7 separate regions of the Homo sapiens genome follow, and regions 2, 3, 4, 5, 6 and 7 are each linked to region 1. The links are contacts of gene promoters, found by promoter capture Hi-C in blood cells and fetal thymus (Javierre and others, 2016). All regions are on one chromosome and are shown on one strand. Each heading gives the region's core, a stretch centred on a gene start or on the middle of the fragment in contact. The rest is flanking DNA. Distances are from core to core; before and after follow the strand shown. Region 1 holds the start of NOD1 (nucleotide binding oligomerization domain containing 1). Region 2 holds the start of SCRN1 (secernin 1). Region 3 overlaps FKBP14-AS1 (FKBP14 antisense RNA 1). Region 4 overlaps PLEKHA8 (pleckstrin homology domain containing A8). Region 5 overlaps PLEKHA8 (pleckstrin homology domain containing A8). Region 6 overlaps PLEKHA8 (pleckstrin homology domain containing A8). Region 7 has its middle 18 kb from the start of MTURN.

Region 1 (2,628 bases), core at 34-2,533:
GGCTGTTTGGTCTGAGGACCCGAGGTCATAGGTGGATCTCCTCACAGAGTGAGGGTGAGGACAGGGGACTGGTCTCCTGAAGGAGTCCTCCTGTCCCGGGTCTTCGGCACCAAATGTCACACGTGTCCGTGTGAAGAGACCACCAAAAGGCTTTGCGTGAGCAATAAAGCTGTTTATTTCACCTGGGTGCAGGTGGGCCGAGTACGAAAAAAAGAGTCAGCAAAGGGAGTTAGGGGTGTGGTAGCTTTATAGGATTTGTGTGGGTAGTGGAAAATTACAGTCAAAGGGGGTTGTTCTCTGGTGGGCAAGGCGGGGGCCGGGGGGGTGGAAGGTCTACAAAGTGCTCAGTGGGGGAGCTTCTGAGCCAGGAGAAGGAATTTCACAAGGTAATGTCATCAGTTAAGGCAGGAACCAGCCATTTTCACTACCTTTGTGATTCCTCAGTTGCTTCAGGCCATCTGGATGTATACATGCAGGCTTGGGCTCAGAGGCCTGACACAAGTTGGCACATTTGATCCTATCAACTTTAGTTTGCACTTTCACTTTTGATTTAAGAACATACTTTCTGTTTCTCAGAGGGCAGCCTCTGATGGGAATTTTAATACTCACAAGCATCAGTGGCTATATGATTGAATGTACTTCTTCAGTGTGAGTAAGTGACAACTTTCTGTAGCATGATATCCCTTATGGACACGATCCCCATTCAAAACGTTTTAAAACTATTTTATTGGGGACATTTATTAGCATGTTAAAACTCTTTTACAACCTATTAGAGCATATGCATAGAACATAAAATGTACACTGCCAAGAACAAATTTAAGGATAGGAAGAAAAGCTTACATTTTTTAAAAAGTATAAATTGAAATGTATGCAGTGTAATTTAAATTTGATTACGTTAACCTCCATTTCATCAGGACCACGTGTCGCGTTTTAACAAGAGTTTCCCTATCATGTCCAGGCTTTGGCTCTGGTTGCAGGCGCTGGGTAGGCACTTTTACGAGGAGGGACCTGGCACGATGGCACCACAAATTCCCAAGTGTGTCACCTCTGGGCGAACTTGGGCCTGTCCACTCGGCCCTGCGCGGTGGCCAGGGGCTCACCCTCTCGCACCGGGCGTCCCTCTGCGCGCAGCTTCTCTCGCCCCCCCGCGCCAGACCCGGGCGAATGGCAGCACCGTGGGACCCTGCCTTGACCGCCCCCGCCCTTCGGCGGCCTCTCCCAGCAGCCGGCAGGCTCTTGGGCGCGCCAACAGAGGGGCGCGGCTGCGGCTGTAGTCGCAGCCAGTTCCCGTTCCGGGCCCGCGAGGCAGCCGCCCCGGTCCTGCCCCTCCCTCGCGCTACTGCGGGAGCAGCGTCCTCCCGGGCCACGGCGCTTCCCGGCCCCGGCGTCCCCGGACCATGGCGCTCTCCGGGCTCTTCTCTAGCTCTCAGCGGCTGCGAAGTCTGTAAACCTGGTGGCCAAGTAAGTCCCAGCGACTGGGGATTCGCGCGGGGCAGGCCCTTTCTGAGGTCCTGGGCGCTGCGAGTGAGGAGGCGCAGGGAGGCGGGATTTGCGTGCGGGCGGAACGCAGCGCGGCTCTGGAGGAGCTCTGGGTGGAACCAAGCGGAGAAACCCGCGAGTTTGAAGCATGTAGCGAAAGTTGAGAGGGATGAACTTCACAGTCAGCGGAATCGTTTATCCCACTGTGGTCGAACGCAGGGGTTCTCAATCGTGCCAGCAGCTTAGAACCACCTGGGGAGCTTTTAAAATCCAGATATCCAGGCTGCACCCTAGATCAATTCCATCAGAATCTCACGGAGTCAGACCCAGGCCTCCGTATCTTTTAAAAGCTCCCCAAGTGATTCCAGTGTGCAGCCAGCGTTCGAGGGTTTGTGGCAAAGGCTGGAAGGGCAGACAGGGGCCTTCATGGAGTCCCGCCTGCAGACGGGACAGCAGCTCCCAGTGTCCTGCTTGGTCCTGGAGAGAGGGTGAGAACTTCCCTTGGGTTTCATGCTCCACAAAGTAAGGAAATGAGACAATGCTTGGCAAGGTCGCCTGAATATCACATTCAAAAACGCCTCCAATGTGTGCAGTTGTTTTGGCACATTGTGAAAAACATAGGAAATGACAGAGGTTGATGTCTCATTAGCTCTGCATTCTAGGAAACATTTCGGTTGTTGGTGTTTGAAATTAAGTCTGGGGAAGCTAAGCTAGTAAACCCATGGCCTTGATGACTTCTGGCCTTTCTGCTTTAAGGGTGAAGCCAGGGCCGGGCGCGGTGGCTCACGCCTGTAATCCCAGCACTTTGGGAGGCCAAGGCAGGCGGATCACCTGAGGTCGAGAGTTCGAGACCAGCCTGGCCCAACATGGTGAAACCGTCTCTACTAAAAAAAAAAAAAAAAAAAATTAACCGGGCGTGGTGGCGCATGCCTGTAATCCCAGCTACTCGGGAGGCTGAAGCAGGAGAATTGCTTGAACCCGGGAGGCAGAGGTTGCAGTGAGCCGAGATCGCCCTGTTGCGCTCCAGCCTGGGCAACAAGAGCAAAACTCCGTCAAAAACAAACAAACAAACAAAAAACAAAAAAACGGTGAAGCCAGAAGTCGTGCTTGCCAAAGGGTCGAGTTTGTTCTCCCTCAAAGCCCCTGTTG
Region 2 (2,628 bases), core at 65-2,564, 490 kb after region 1:
CCCCAGCACCCAGTCTCCCAGTTCTGCTCCCTGGTGGCATCTATTACAGGTTCTTACGTACTCTTCCAAAGATACTCTGTGCATTTACAAAAATAAGTACAGACATACATATATATTTTCTTCCCACAAATAACACACACAACGTTCTGCACCTAGCTTTTTATTTTTCTTTAGTTAGTATAGGTTGGAAATAGTTTTGTATTAGCAAATAAAGATCATTCTCCTTTTTAAAGGAAGCTGGATAGTAGAGGCAGGCGGATTGCCTAAGCTCAGGAGTTTGAGACCGGCCTGGGCAACATGGTGAAACCCCATCTCTACTAAAAATCAAAAAAAATTAGCGAGGCTGGTGGCGTGGGTCTGTAGTCTCAGCCACTTGGGAGGCTGAGGCACGAGAATCGCTTGAACCCGGGAGGCGGGAGGCGGGAGGCGGGAGGCAGGAGGCGGAGTTTGCAGTGAGCCGAGATCCTGCCACTGCATTCCAGACTGGGCGACAAAGCAAGACTCAAAATGTTTTGATTTTTGTTAATCTGGCTGGTGGAAGATGCTACCCCACATATTTGATTTGCAGTTAAGTGAGCCTGAATATCTTTTCGTGTGCCAGGATAGAATTGCATTTATTTTCCTCTGAATTACGTCTTCATATCTTTTGAGATAGTCTTTTCTTATTTACTTATAAAAGATGGAGTTGACGCTGGCATCAACACACACACACACACACACACACAGACACACAACACACAAGTCCCTGTACATAACTTTATTAACCCAGATATGGAATCTTGGCTTAGTTACGTGCTGTGTGACCTTGGGCAAGTTACTTAACCTCTCTAGGCCACAATGTCCAAGTACCTGGGACAGGGTCTGGCTTACCAACATGGTACAGGACGGCACTTTTAAAACCAGGGACTCGACTTGGACGTGCGAGTCAACAAGGTACAGGACACATTTCTCTCCGGGGAAATCTTGTGTGGGCGCCGAGGCCCGGACGTAGCAACCAAACGTCGGGAAGAGGCGCCAAAAGGATGCTGGGCCTGGCTCCTTGAAGCCCGGGTTTTCCCTTTTGAGAGCCACAACCAAGAAATAAAAATCTAGCAAAGAGGGGGCCACTTTCTGCGGCGAGATACGCCCTCTCGGCCGCTCCTCCAGCTCCCAGGCCCCCTCCCTACTCGACGGTGAGCAGCGCCGCGGCCCGTGCAGCCAGACGCGCGGGGTGCGGCGGGGCCCCGGGGGCCGGGGTGGGGGAGGCGGAGGGTGGGCCCGCGGTCACGTGAGTCGGGCCAGCTGCTGCGGGGGGCGGCGGGCCCCAGCGCCGGGAGTCTGGGTAGGGGGAAGCGCCCGGCGGCCGCCTCCGCCACTGCAGCTGCAGCCCCCGAGGTCGCCGCAGTAATCCGGACCCGGCAGCACCCGCACCCTCGGCGGCCGCAGCCTCAGCACCGCAGAGCGGAGAGCGGAGCCCGGAGCCCGCCGCCCCAGGTGAGCCGCGTCTGGGAGCGCAGGGCGTTTGCAGCGCTGCTTTCCCGGCGGTTTCACCCCACCCGCCATCGCCACCTCCTGCGTTTCATCTCCTCCCGCTGTCCCTCCGAACCCGCGGGTAGCGTTACCCCAGGCCGATTCCCGGTGCTGGCCCGGGCGGGCTGGGAGCCTGGGGGCGGTCAGAGGAGAGGTGGCCTCGGCCTGAAGCCGGGGTGACTCGGCTCGGGGACTGCGGGGGTGCAGTGGAGGGATGCCGGCCCCGGGCTCCCGCACCGCAGCCGGGTTCCCCGCGCTGCTCTTCCTGGGTTTCCTTTTCCTGGCAGCCAACCTGCTGCCCACTGGGATGTGCCTGTGGGCCCCTGGCCTCGCCACCCTGGGGTCTGGGGCGAGCCGGGCACCTTCCCCGAGGTGCCGTACCTGCTGCGCGGGCGGGCGCCGCGAACATGGCTGCCCGGAGACGCCCGCCGCCTTCGGCCCGGCTCTGCCAGCGCGTCCAACTCGCCCGCGGCCGCCGCACCGTGTCCCGGAGCAGCCCTCCCCGCTAGGCCGACGCGCGCGGGCCGCCCCTGGGTTCTCCGCGGGCCGCGCGTGGGACTTGACACAACTTCCCTCGAGCCGCACCCGGGCGTTCTCCGCGGGGCGCCGGGCGGGGCTGCCGAGAGGCCGGCTTGGTCGGCCTCTGCCTCCTCGGCTCGCTCTTGAGGCGTCGAGTATTTGGCGACCTCACTCGCGAGGGCCGAGAGAAATGTGGTCTGCAAAGCAGGAGGGGCGCTTGAACTTTAGAGAATTGGCGAGAACTCGGATTTGGGAATAAAAATGTCCATGAAAACATCGAAGGAAACTGTTACCTGCTTTGACTCAAAGCTGACCTTGTAGGGTTCTGTTAAATAACGTGGCTTTTCTGGATTTTCTGTCTGATTCTAGCATGCAAGTCCTTGACTTACGCTTGCGTCCGGCAGCCGGGTGGGGTGGGTGCGTGCGTGTGTGTGTGCGCGTGTGCGCGTGTTGTGTTCCCAGCCTGGTTAGAAGATGCATCAGTTGCGGAGGAAACCTATGCTAATTCAAAATGGCAGCATGAAAAATAGGCCAGGCGGAAGCAGCACAGACCACAACCATCAGCTGCCCCCTGACTTAAGCCTCAGGGAGGGAATTAGT
Region 3 (2,628 bases), core at 49-2,548, 470 kb after region 1:
TCGAGGGGGAGGAGGGAGGGTGATGGTTATTATCACTGTTGTTTTGGTTTAGGGTTTTATCGTGTGTAGCAGGTGGACACACTGATTTATGCCTACTGCGTAAATCAGTGCTATAAAATACCCTCTGATTAAACGAAATGCGGGGTTGCCATGAAAATAACGAGAAACAATGATTTCTGATTCAGATGAAGAATCTAGCCATTTGGATCTTTCCTTATGGAAATGAATTTGTAGTTTTTATTTTATTAATGATGTGTGGGATATTGCTTATATTTCTTTTCTATTTTTTTTCTTTTGTTGTTGTTGAGACACAGTTTCGCTCTTGTTGCCAGGCTGGAGTCCAGTGGCGCGATCTTGGTTGACCACAACCTCCGCCTCCCAGGTTCAAGCGATTCTCCTGCTTCAGCCTCCCCAGTAGCTGGGATTACAGGCATGCGCCACCACGCCCAGCTAATTTTTTTTTTTTTTTTTTTTTTAGTAGAGACAGGGTTTCTCCATGTTGGTCAGGCTGGTCTCGAACTCCTGACCTCAGGTAATCCGCCTGCCTCAGCCTCCCAAAGGGCTGGGATTACAGGCGTGAGGGACCACGCCCGGCCTATTGCTTATATTTCTAATGCTACATAGAGGTCAGCATGCTATCTCTCCCCATTGAACTGTGTATATATGGGTGATTTCTCAGTGTTTGGAAATTGCAAGAGGAGAAAAAGGAATTTGGTGGCATGTTATGGGAAAATATATTCTCTTACCTTTTTATTAAAAAGGTAAATTATATGCCGAGTGTGGTGGCTCATGCCTGTACTCCCAGCACCTTGGGACGCTGAGGCGGGGGGATCACTTGAGGTCAGGTGCTCGAGACCAACCTGGTCAACATGGTGAAACCCTGTCTTTACTAAAAATGCAAAAATTAGCCAGGCATGGTGGTGCACGCATGTAATCCCAGCTACTAGGGAGGCTGAAGCAGGAGAATCACTTGAACCTGGGAGGTGGAGGTTGAAGTGAGCCAAAATTGTGCTACTACATTCCAGCTTGAGTGACAGAGCAAGATTCCATCTCAAAAAAAAAAAAAAATTATAGCACTATCGGATGCAGGGAGAAACAAAAAACTAAAAAAGTAAATTAGCATTATAATAATAACCCTGGGAAAATAAAAAAGAACTTCTTTTCCAGAGATGCAGAGCACTTGGACATAAGAATTTTTGTTTTTTGTTTCTTGCCCATTTTACCTTAAATTGAAATCTAAGATGTCAAAATGATTATAAACACATATGCCCATTTAAAAGCATTACTATGCATTACTATTATAGTATTTCTAGTACTTCTGTGTCTTAGCATCCTTAGCATTCTTTTTTTTTTTTTGGAGACGGATTCTCGCTCTGTCGCCCAGGATCTTGGCTCACTGCAAGCTCTGCCTCCTGGGTTCATGCCATTCTCCTGCCTCAGCCTGGGGCTACAGGCGCCTGCCACCACGCCCGGCTAATTTTTTTGTATTTTTAGTAGAGACGGGTTTCACCGTGTTAGCCAGGATGGTCTTGATCTCCTGACCTCGTGATCGGCCTGCCTTGGCCTCCCAAAGTGCTGGGATTACAGGCATGAGCCACCGCACCTGGCCGGCTTTTTTTTTTTTTTTAAATCTCAGCTCACTGCAACCTCCACCTCCCAGGTTCAAGTGATCTTCCCGCCTCAGCCTCCTGAGTAACTGGGACTACAGACACATGCCACCACACTCAGCTAATTTTTGTATTTTTAGTAGAGATTGGGTTTCACCATGTTGGTCAGGCTGGTCTCGAACTCCTGAACTCAGATGATCTCCCCACCTCGGCCTCCCACAGTGCTGGGATTACAGGCATGAGCCACCGTGCCTGGCCAGCATTCTTTTTAGTAGGTTTGTGTATTCCCTTTAGTACAATGAAATCAATACATTCTTACCTTAGGTTTGGAGCCTATTTGAAGATAAATGATTTTTTCTTTAAAATACTGTTTTGGTCTCCTTTACCTTTGCCTCATCTACCTCCAGCTCCTTGCTTTAGGCTGACTGCAGAGGGAGGCCGTAGCAAACATTGCTGTCAGGGCTCCGTCCTGAAGTAAAATGAGACACACACCTTAGTTTTTAAAGGTTGCAGAAATGTAGCGGTGATTCACATTTTAGTGCATGGCAGAATCACATGGGGTGTATTAAAAGTGCAGATTCCTGAATCCCCAAAGATTCTCATTAATTATTGGATTGGGCCTGTGAATCTGCAGTTTTTGTTGTTGTTGAGACAGAGTCCTGCTTTGTCACCCAGGCTAGAGTGCAGTGGCACAATCTCAGCTCACTGCAACCTCTGCCTCCCAGGTTCAAGCGATTCTCCTGCCTCAGCCTCCCAAGTAGCTGGGACTAAAGGTGCATGCCAGCGTGCCCGGCTAATTTTTGTATTTTTAGTAGAGTCCAGGTTTCACCATGTTGGCCAGACTGGTCTTGAACTCCTGACCTCAAGTGATCCCCCCACCTCAGCCTCCCAAAGTCCTGGGATTACAGGTGTGAGCCATCACGCTGGGCCTGAGTCTGCATTTTAACATGCTTGCTGGTGACCCTGATGCAGGTGGTCCAAAAACCTGAATTTGAGGGACAGATAACTTCACTACTTCCCT
Region 4 (2,628 bases), core at 43-2,542, 440 kb after region 1:
AAAAATTAATGAATGCTGGGCTTAATACCTAGGTGATGGGATGATCTGTACAGCAAATGACCATGGCACACATTTATCTATGTAACAAACCTGCACATGTACCCCTGAACTTAAAGTTCAAGACTAAAAGAAAAAAAATCCATAAGAACTACTGTTGTGTAGAAATGCAGAAAAAAAAAATGAAAAGGGACTATTTAAACTCTTTCTAGAAAAGTTAGCCAAAAGTAAAGAAAAAAAGTGAAGGAAAGGTGCTTTTTCATTAACAATAAGAGGAAAAATTAGTGACCATAATAAAGGGGGAACAGAATGGGAGAAAGAAAAGGTTAAGTCCCTAAACTTCTTTCAGCTTTAGTTTCCTTTTCTACAAAATTTCAGCTGGAGTTTAGATGATGCCTAGAAGTCTCTCTCAGCTTTCAAAACCTATCCTAATACAAAATAACAGAAAACTCCCATCTTTCCCAGAATCTGATTCAAGAGATAGTAACTGCCAGGTACAGTGGCTCATGAGGCAGAAGGATCAGTTGAGGCCAGGAGTTCAAGACCAGCTTGGGCAACATAGCGAGACCCTGTTTCCAAACAAATTTTTTTAAATAAAAACAGAGAAAGTAACTAATGCCAAGAAAAAAAAAGTGAAATTAAATGTCTTGATAGGACTGACAATCTGAAATGTTGAGTCAAGACAATTTATTCATTATAAATTATGGTTTCTACGTTCATAACCCATATATATTATCATATCATATATTATGTATGCTATATAGATATGTTAATAGTGAAATAATCTACCATTTTAAATTGAAGCAAAGCAGAGCAATTAATTTGCTACCCCTGACCTCCATAGCCTTGGTGTTTTCCAATATCCAACCTAAGCGCTCAGCCACACCTCATCCCATTAGAGCCCTCCCCCACTCAGCTTCTCTAGGGGAGTTCCAGACAGGGATGCGGACAGCAAAGCCTTGGGTTCCTCTGCCAGGTCAGTCAGTTAAGAGTTCTGTTGTAGCTAGGGAGGAGGGAAGAATGAAGAAACACTCCTCATTGTAACAGTTACCCAAGCATTAGCTAAATTATAGGCTTCTTAATTTACCATTAATTAATTCACAAAGCATTTTCTGAGCAGTTGTAGTTTGCCAGGTTTGGAGATTTAGAGAAAAGATCCCAGCCTCAAGGAGTGACAGACTACTGGAGAGTCTACCATGTAGATGGTAAGAAGACTATAATTACAATAGATTATATCAAATTCTCTTTAAAACCTTCTGCTAGAAGATGTAGGTCACCTCTCCTGTGCACTTTGAGCTACCAAACTAAATATTTATTTGTTCTGCACAGTGCTTCTCATATGTCCTACCAGCACCTTAAAACAACGGAGTGAGGAAACCATGGTTTAAGTTCAGACTCATAACATCCAGGTATGTCATCTTAAGGACACTACTTAATTCCTCTGGGCATTATTTCTCTATCTAATCTATCTATCTATCTATCTATCTATCTATCTATCTATCTATCTATCTATCTATCTATTCTATCCTATCCTATCTACCTGAGACAGAATCTTACACTATCTATTTGTGACAGTCTTGCTCTGTCACCCATCTATCCATCTATCTATCTGAGACACAGTCTCACTCTATCTATCTATCTATCTATTTATTTATTTGCAACAGAGTCTCGTTCTGTTGCCCAGGCTGGAACACAGGTGTGATCTTGGCTCACTGCAACCCCTTAGCTCACTGCAACCTCCACCTTCTGGGTTCAAACGACTCTGGTGCCTCAGCCTCCCAAGTAGCTGGGATTACAGTCGTGTGCCATCACGCCCAGCTAATTTTTGTATTTTTAGTAGAGACGGGGCTTCACCATGTTGGCCAGGCTGGTCTCAAACTCCTGGCCTCAAGCGATCTGCCCATGTCGGCCTCCCAAAGTGTTGGCATTACAGGTGTGAGCCACCATGCCTGGTCTACAATGGAATTTTAATTAAGAATATATGGCCGGGCGAGGTGGCTCATGCCTGTAATCCCAACACTTTGGGAGGCCAAGAAGGGTGGATCACGAGGTCAGGAGTTCAAGACCAGCCTAGCCAACATGGTGAAACCTCATCTCTACTAAAAATACAAAAAAAAATCAGCCGGGCTTGGTGGCAGGCGCCTGTAATCCCAGCTACTTGGGAGGCTGAGGTAGAGAACTGCTTGAACCCGGGAGGCGAAGGTTGCAGTGAGCCGACATTGTGCCACTGCACTCCAGCCTGGGCGACAGAGCAACACTCCATCTCAAAATAAATAAATAAATAAATAAGTAAATAAGAATATATAAAGAGCTCTCACAACTCAATAATAAAAAGAACAATTAACTTTTAAAAATAGGTTAAAGATTTGAACAGACACTTCACAATGGAAGAGACAGCAATGGCCAATAATTATATGAAAAAGAATCCATGAGGAACCACAATTTGCAAATAGAAAGCTGAATACACAGAGACTAAATTTTCTGGGCATCATTAATCAAAACAGTGATCTAATTAACCTACCCTTAAAGTGAACTATGAACCTGCCTGGTACACAGTGGAGCATGTCTGCAGAGTGTCTGACACTAATGGGCACGACCCAGAAACTGCTAACAGTAAGCTCAATATCCATT
Region 5 (2,628 bases), core at 63-2,562, 420 kb after region 1:
TATAAATTTTCAGATATATTTATCTATTAAATATATATATAACATATATATACATAACATATATATACACATAACATATATATATACACACACACACACACACACACACACACACACACACACACACACTTTTTTTTTTTTTTTTTTGAGACAGGCTGTCTGTCATCCAGGCTGGAGTGCAGTGGTGCAATCTCGGCTCACTGCAACCTCCGTCTCCCAGGTTCAAGCAATTCTCCTGCCTCAGCCTCCTGAGTAACTGGGATTACAGGTGCGCGCCACCACACTCAGCTAATTTTTGTATTTTTAGTAGAGACGGGGTTTTACCATGTTGGCCAGGCTGGTCTCAAACTCCTCATCTCAGGTGATCCGCCCACCTCAGCCTCCCAAAGTGCTGGGATTACAGGCGTGAGCCACTGTGCCCAGCCATAACATACATTTTATTTATTTACATATATATGTATGTTATATATATGTGTTATATATATTATATATATGTTATTTATATATATATGTGTTATATATATTATATATATGTTATTTATATATATATATATATATAGAGAGAGAGAGAGAGAGAGAGAGAGAGAGAGAGAATATATCTTTAAAAATCTTTGAAAATATGTTTTGCAGGCCGGGCGTGGTGGCTCACACCTGTAATCCCAGCACTTTTGGAGGCCAAGGCAGGCGGATCACGAGGTCAGGAGATCAAGACTATCCTGGCAAACACAGTGAAACCCTGTCTCTACTAAAAATACAAAAAAATTAGCCAGGTGTGGTGGCAGGCACCTGAAGTCCCAGCTACTCGGGAGGCTGAGGCAGGAGAACAGCATGAACCTGGGGGGCGGAGCTTGCAGTGAGTGGAGATCCCGCCACTGCACTGCAGCCTGGGTGACAGAGCAAGACTCCGTCTCAAAAAAAAAAAAAAAGAAAATATGTTTTGGTTGGGTATGGTGGCTCACATTTTGGGAGGGAAGGATCACTTGAGCCCGGGTGTTCCAAACCAGTATGGGCAACATGACGAAACCCATATCCACAAAAAATACAAAAATTAGCCGGGCATGCGCATATAGTCCAGCTACCAAGAAGGCTGAGGTGGAAGGATTGCTTGAGCCTGGGAGGTGAAGTTTGCAGTGAACAGAGATCATGCCACTGCACTCCAGCCTGGGCAACAAAGCAAGAGCCTGTCTCAAAAAAGTTTTAACTGGTAAAACACATTTTTTCACAGTGCCAATATATTTGAAGGTCTATTCCTCAAATACTTTTTTTACTTTTATGTATGGTTTCTAGAAAGATCCCCCTTTTAAATTACATTATTTTGAGGTCAATATTTAATCATTATTAGAAATGAAATGGGAATATGCAATAATGCTTAAGGTCACACAGTTTTAACTGTATGTGTCTGGTGATTTGAACAAATAGCCAAGGGTCATCTCACTGTACACATAGTTTGGGGTATTTCTCCTGCAAAATAACTACAGTGAGGCAGATTCTAGACATGAATGAATGTAAGGCAACTGCAGGAATCTTACCTAATACTGGAACCACAGCATAACATGATGCCAAGAATGCTTCTGTGGGAATGCCACTGTCTTCCAGAAGTTCAATGTCACTAAAGCTACATAATTTGGTGATATGGAGGAGAAAAGATTGAAAATACAGTATCAGCACTCTGCAATTCAGAGGTAAGTCATAGACACAGCTGCCTCTCTGTAGGGCAAATCGTTTGACTTGATATGCCCCAGTAACTGTTTTTCTAATATGGTCTCATAAAATAAATTTCCAAAGATAATCCACCAAAGCAAGCTAACATTTGTTCACAGAGCACACTTCACAATGAATTCCTTCTTATTCATTGGTAAGAAAGAGTAAACAGTAAAGCAGGTACTTGGTATACCACATTCTCTATTCTCCTAGAATATGCCATCACCTGAAAGGAACACCATGACTGATTTTCCAGAATGGAAGTTAGTATCCAAGCATCAGTGATATTAAAGAGTCTAGAATACCTTGTGTTCATGGTACTAAAGAAAGTTGGGATAACTTCTTTGCCTTCCTCCCAGAGGCATTCCGGAGAGCAACTTGAGTCTGATCCAGACTGAGTCAAGTTATTGTCATGATTTTTCAGGTTTTCCATTCCATCTTCCTTCCTTATTTCACCTTGGACTGCAAAGTAGAAAATATCTATTACTAACCTATTATATATTTATTATAAAAATACATATTGATTGTTGAAAATTTCTAAAACACAGAAAAATACATAGAAATAAAAATTCATGAAACACTATTCACATATACATAAACATACATCTACACACACAAACAAAACTTGAAGTATGTGTAGATTTGAATCCTGCTTGCTTTCACTAAACAATGTATCATGAATATTTTCATTATCATTCAACCCTTCAAAAACATGATTTTAATGACCATGTTATATTGTATCATATCCATGAGGGGCACTTAGGTAGCTTCCAAAATTTTACAATTATAAATACAATCACTACTCATTATTAGCACATTCTATATGTATTTGTGAATTTGTCTACTTGCTAAAATTTATTTTGTAACCCCAAAATCAATACATGCGGCACTTTTGCAGACATTTGTGGACACGTGCAAAGTGGTGAA
Region 6 (2,628 bases), core at 44-2,543, 400 kb after region 1:
ATGCATGGGGAACATGCTGGTAAATGGTAGGCAGTTGGGAGGTGTCATCTCAAATGACCTGTCCCACCTCTCTCATATTCTCCCCTCCAACTTGGGGCTAGGGCACACCATTAATCTTCTCAGAGCAACGGTTTCATGCCTGTCAGCAAGGATGGGACTCCTGTCCACGTCTTCTTCGCCTCCCACAATTGCATGGTCATGTGAATGCCCTGAACATCTTTACTACACAGGCCCTTATCACTGACAGAGTTGCAGTGAAGAGGGTCCACTGAAGAACATCTAGGAACAGCAAACTCTACACAGCTTCAACAAAGCAGCTTATACTACCTCCAAATGTCTAGTCTAAGTTGGCTGAAACACTGGCTATGAATTATGGTACTTAATATGGAATTTGCTGATTTTCAGCTTGGGTTTGGGTGGCCCATTAGACTAAAATATAAAAACAATACAATACACAATAACAGCAAATTTGTTTGTTAAATCTGCTCTTATAACTTGCTGTTCAAGTCTACAGCAGCTTATCATTTGGTTTCCAGTAGGCCTGCTGAACTGAAATATATAGCACCTTGATCTTTAAACAAAACACATATGCATTTTAAAAATTATAAAAGCACTGGGTTTTGCCACCTCCTGTCCATCCCCCCAGGTGAAGGGGTTGGAGAGGGTTGAGGCTGTTGCTGGAAATTAAGTAGGGCAACAAAACACTTTAGCACTTATTCCCTGAAGTTAGGAGGTGCTGCCCAGCAGCCATCATACCACCTCATCAGATTCCAGCCCGTGGACCTCATATAAAGTGTCCAGTATGGCCAGCTGCTTCTCCATGGCAGGGAGGTAAAGGCTGAGGTCCCTCTGCATCCCAATACTGAAAGCTTCTTTCTGGTGGTCACCTTCCTTTACGGTTAACGCGGCCACAAAATCTTCATAGGATGGAGCTGCCCTTAAAGCTAACTGCAAAAGAATAACCCATGAGAATCTGCATCAAGTCTGTCTCTCACACTCTTATTTTTATGCATGTGCACATGCACACACACATACTTTCACACATACAAACAGCTGAGAAGAGCAAGAGTAAAGAAATATGACTACCCTTCTAATTTGTGGCTTCTCTAAAATTATGTTTCAAGGGCCAATTCAAATAACTTTAAGGCTAGAAGAAACAAGCATGTACTTGGGCCACCTTAAGGATAAATAATGCTATCACATCAGGGAATGCTGAGAGAGAGAGTCTGAGAAAAGCTCCCTTCTGATCCACAGTGTGATCCAGACTATTCCCCTCAAATCCTCAGAATCTATATGCATGTTGCCATCATGGTCTTTATTCCCACATGGCCTGTCTTCTGGGGCATCTCATTCTCTTATTTGTATCTCATCTCTATATATTTCTTTGCGTATCTTCTATTTTTCCCCCATAAGAATAATCTTTCCTTTGCACTCTTGAATGCTTTCTAGAAAGGAAGGGAGCTAACATTTATTGTTTGCTTGTGCGCTGATGCTTTAACATAGTTTATTCTAGCTGATCTTTATAAGAACCCTGTACAGTTTATATCTCTATTTTATATATAAACGTCATACAGCTAATGAGTGCCAGGGCTAGGATCTGAACTTGGATCATCTCTGTGTTTTTCAACCACACCACCATATTATGCCACTTGCCTAACAGATTTCCTAGGCATCTTATCCTTCTCTTCCTTTGCGGGCCAATATTTCCTAAGCTTGCTAAAATCTGTTTTCTGGCGGTCACTAGATCTCAGCAGAGGCTTTTTGAAGAATCTTGAATTATCATTCCACAGTTGCTTTCCTGATCTTCCTTATACTTTGAAAGTCTTTGAGAATCAGACCTCCCCATTTTTGCAGTAAGAGAGTGACTGGCATTATCATGCAGTGGCTAAAGCACAGACTTAGATGAAGCAGACCTGGACTTGAATCTCAGATCTTTCACATACCAGTTTGAGGAATTTATGCAAAGTGCTTAACTTCCTAGAATCTCAGTTTCCTTATTTATAGAAGAAGACTAATACCACTTTCCTTATTTTAAGCATTAATGGGATCTGTAGGAAGTGTTTAGCCCACTGCCTGGCACATGATAAATACTTAAGATAATGGTCAAAGTACAAGCGAGTGGGAAAACTGAAAATTAAGAGAAGGCAGTTATCCAAAAACATAACAAAAGAAAATCTCCCAGAACTGGAGGATAGGAGTCTCCAGATTTAAAGACCTAATCAAGTGCTCAGCATAATGAATGATAAAGACCAAAAGGGCACATCATGAAATTTCAGAATGTGGGGAAAAACAATCTAAAACATTTCGAAAGGGACAAGGAACAGATTATATATAATAGAATAGGATTTCACAATAGTAACAGTAGAAGCTGGAGGACAATAGAGGAATGCCTTCAAAATTTGGAGGGAAAATGTTTATTAACCTAGAATTCTACACTCAGCCATCAGCACTCTAGAAAAAAAAGGGGAGAACCAGTAATAGAGTTCAACTGTCTAGTCTGATTGAAGAGGAAACCAAAAAGGTCAAATGAAGGCTAGTTAGTGACCAAGATGGAGGCAGCCACCTTGCCTGAAATGGCTATCAGCTCAGTAGAGTATAACTGCTGAAAGATTAAAAGGTCACTATTTG
Region 7 (2,628 bases), core at 38-2,537, 360 kb after region 1:
CTGTCCACCTACCTGCAGAGTTATTATAAAGCCCCTCATGTTGCTTCTCGTAGTTTGGTGGGCAAGATTTTCACAGGCCACAAACTCAAATAGGCAAGCAATTGAGCTTTATTTTCTTGTAATATAATTTAATTTCTCTTTTGAGACCTCATTCTATCTGATGGCAGAAAAACAATCAAATAAGTTCCAGATAGACTCAGTCATTTCAGGGTTTTCTCAGGCATTTTAGATCTCACTTAACTCAGGATACTCTCACATACTTCCTTCTCTCCAGGAGGCATCTCGGGGCTTGCTGGGCATCCTGGCCCAGGAGAGGCATTTAGTCCAGGCTGATCCCCTGGAGAGAGGCGTCACCCAGATGTGATGCATCCTGTCTCATGCTGGGTCATCATGTCCTGCAGGCCACTCTGCACCCGCCTGATTCTGAGTGACAGCCCTCCTGGGCCACCATCAGACATTTGTGTGTCCCTGTTAGAAATGAATCCACGTCTCAGTTTTTAAATTTTTTAAAAAATAAAAATATGAATAAAGTCTTGGCAATCTTTAATCTACAGGAAGTAGAGTTGTGTAGTTATACTTCTGTTTCTAATATCTTGTTGGCAACATAAGCTTTGTGCCTTCATTTTTTTAGTGTGCACACTAAACTTTTGAAACTTAAAATTATTTTTCTCATAAATTCTGGCAGTTGTAAATCAAAACTGTTGTTTTTTAAAGATTTTAATTTTTTTCTGGAGGGGGGTCTTGCTCTGTCACACAGGCTGGATGGAGTACAGTGGCATGATCATGGCTCACTGCAGCCTTGAACTCCTGGGCTCAAGTGACCCTCTCGCCTCAGCCTCCTGAGTATCTGGGACTACAGGTGTGTGCCAACATGCCTGGCTAATTTTTTTATTTTAGTGGAGATAAGGTCTCACTATGTTGCCCAGGCTGGTCTCAAATTCCTGAGCTAAAGCAATCCTCCCACCTCAGCCTCCCCAAGTGCTAGGCTTACAGGCAGGAACCATCGTGCCTGGCCCTAAATTTAATTTTTAATAAATTACATTTTAAGGCTATTATTTCTACTACAAATTTTAAGAAACTAACTTGGAACTAATTTAAGTCTCAAGAACCTAACTTGGAACTCAAATTCATTTGGCCAAGACATTGTATAGTGCTAACTTAAGTGGGAAGGGCCATGGGGTAACTTCTAGGAAATGCACACACACATATAATTTCATTGTATGGCATGAGTTTGAATCGATTTCTCAATTACTGTGAGCTGAGAACCCCAGTCTCCCAAAAATGCTTTCTATCCTTGACCCTGCCTGCCTCTCACAATTTCCAGGCTGTCTCCTTAATAACGTTCAATCTGCCTTCCACAGTCATTACGTCAACTGGGCACAGATGCTGGAAGGCAGACGGAAAGGCGGTGACAAAGTTAGACCTACATTTGCAAGACCAAGTGAAACACACACCCACTCTCCTGAAGCCAAACTGCTTTTGGAAGGCGGGCAGGGGAGTGCCATTCCCTCTAGCATACTTGTCATTCCCAGCCTAGGTTTCAGATCCTTTTTATACACTGGCCTGTGGAGAGACTTGCTGCTAAATTCTGTTATTTCACAGCCCATCTCTAGCAACTGTGTTGGGGAACGACTTCAGACATTCCAGGTTTTGCTCAGAGAGCAATTTTCAACAAGAAAGCCAGAATGGGGGAGTAGCTAAGATTTAGTTGCAGCAAATTGGAGACCGGAAATATAAAGTTATTCAGAACAGTCAATGAAAATCATTTATATGGGAGAGAAACAACATGATCTTGCTTTAAATGTAAGGCATCTATCAGCGGCACAATGTTAATTAGGATTCTAGGGCTCTTAGTGCAGCTATTCCCTTTTTTATTTCTAGGTTGCTAGGTGCAGAAGAGTAGATTTGCAGAACAGCTAATCAAATATATGCAAGAAGATGCCCCTCATTTATCCTTAAGCTTCTAAGGCAGAAGTTTTTCTTCAGTTGTTTGTTCTTTAATGAATTTTAATGATGTAAGAAAAATACAATACACTATTAGGTGAAAAATCGCACATGTAAACAGATATTCACACATGAATCAAGTTATATAGTACATATATACATACACACATATGTGTATGTATATATGTATACATGTATGAATACATACATGTATACATACATACATGTATGCATGTATACGTGTACATGTATACGCATACATGTATACGTATATACATATGTATACATGTATACGTGTATGTATGCGTATGTATACATATGTATACACATGTATACGTGTATGTATGCGTATGTATACATATGTATACACATGTATACGTGTATGTATGCGTATGTATACGTATGTATGCGTATGTATACATGTATACGTATGCATACGTATGTATGCGTATGCGCACATGTATGTATACGTATGTATGCGTATGTATGCGTATGTATGCGTATGCATACATGCATGCATGCACATGTATGCATGCATGTATGCGTATGTGTGCATGTATACATGTATGTACACGCACGCATGCATGTATACATGCATGTATACGCATGTATGCGTGCCTACATGTATGTGCACGTATGTATGCATACGTGTATACATGTATGTGCACGCATGTATACATGCAT

Evidence for each region. The method cuts DNA at HindIII sites, captures the fragments that hold promoters and counts their contacts. A CHiCAGO score of 5 or more calls a contact.
Region 2: the fragment with the promoter of SCRN1 here is called in contact with the fragment with the promoter of NOD1 in region 1 in 6 of 17 cell types (neutrophils, naive B cells, total B cells and 3 more); the score reaches 10.1 in neutrophils.
Region 3: a contact is called between a fragment that was not itself captured here and the fragment with the promoter of NOD1 in region 1, in 4 of 17 cell types (total CD4 T cells, neutrophils, activated CD4 T cells and 1 more). The highest score is 8.3, in total CD4 T cells.
Region 4: a contact is called between a fragment that was not itself captured here and the fragment with the promoter of NOD1 in region 1, in 9 of 17 cell types (neutrophils, total CD4 T cells, non-activated CD4 T cells and 6 more). The highest score is 10.8, in neutrophils.
Region 5: a contact is called between a fragment that was not itself captured here and the fragment with the promoter of NOD1 in region 1, in 3 of 17 cell types (neutrophils, total B cells and total CD8 T cells). The highest score is 8.9, in neutrophils.
Region 6: a fragment that was not itself captured here is called in contact with the fragment with the promoter of NOD1 in region 1 in 8 of 17 cell types (naive B cells, total B cells, activated CD4 T cells and 5 more); the score reaches 11.5 in naive B cells.
Region 7: a fragment that was not itself captured here is called in contact with the fragment with the promoter of NOD1 in region 1 in 11 of 17 cell types (total B cells, non-activated CD4 T cells, naive B cells and 8 more); the score reaches 16.0 in total B cells.

Annotation. Positions count from the first base shown.
Region 1 is chr7:30,477,439-30,480,066 of GRCh38, reverse strand. It overlaps NOD1 (nucleotide binding oligomerization domain containing 1), which reads left to right and starts at 1,283. Exons shown (of 14, transcript NM_006092.4): 1 at 1,283-1,461. RefSeq lists a silencer at 1,155-1,394 and an enhancer at 1,043-1,787. The HindIII fragment of the contact is 7,069 bases long and covers 838-2,628 here.
Region 2 is chr7:29,988,487-29,991,114 of GRCh38, reverse strand. SCRN1 (secernin 1) reads left to right here and starts at 1,314. Exons shown (of 8, transcript NM_014766.5): 1 at 1,314-1,473. FKBP14-AS1 (FKBP14 antisense RNA 1) reads right to left here and starts at 2,459. Exons shown (of 3, transcript NR_187577.1): 1 at 2,322-2,459. RefSeq lists silencers at 1,188-1,527, 1,548-1,597, 1,608-1,877, 1,968-2,087. The HindIII fragment of the contact is 11,019 bases long and covers 1-2,628 here.
Region 3 is chr7:30,007,676-30,010,303 of GRCh38, reverse strand. FKBP14-AS1 (FKBP14 antisense RNA 1) reads right to left here. Exons shown (of 3, transcript NR_187577.1): 2 at 1,927-2,076. It also overlaps a transcript of FKBP14 not described here. Among named protein-coding and RNA genes, the nearest start is that of FKBP14, 18 kb to the left of the region's middle. The HindIII fragment of the contact is 3,733 bases long and covers 1-2,628 here.
Region 4 is chr7:30,035,298-30,037,925 of GRCh38, reverse strand. All of the region lies in intron 1 of PLEKHA8 (pleckstrin homology domain containing A8), which reads right to left. Among named protein-coding and RNA genes, the nearest start is that of PLEKHA8, 8.2 kb to the right of the region's middle. The HindIII fragment of the contact is 7,809 bases long and covers 1-2,628 here.
Region 5 is chr7:30,054,244-30,056,871 of GRCh38, reverse strand. It overlaps PLEKHA8 (pleckstrin homology domain containing A8), which reads right to left. Exons shown (of 14, transcript NM_001197026.2): 8 at 2,007-2,163; 9 at 1,530-1,615. Among named protein-coding and RNA genes, the nearest start is that of PLEKHA8, 27 kb to the right of the region's middle. The HindIII fragment of the contact is 6,410 bases long and covers 1-2,628 here.
Region 6 is chr7:30,076,910-30,079,537 of GRCh38, reverse strand. PLEKHA8 (pleckstrin homology domain containing A8) reads right to left here. Exons shown (of 14, transcript NM_001197026.2): 14 at 1-948. The coding sequence ends at 751. Among named protein-coding and RNA genes, the nearest start is that of PLEKHA8, 50 kb to the right of the region's middle. The HindIII fragment of the contact is 843 bases long and covers 872-1,714 here.
Region 7 is chr7:30,115,810-30,118,437 of GRCh38, reverse strand. It overlaps a transcript of PLEKHA8 not described here. Among named protein-coding and RNA genes, the nearest start is that of MTURN, 18 kb to the left of the region's middle. The HindIII fragment of the contact is 1,351 bases long and covers 612-1,962 here.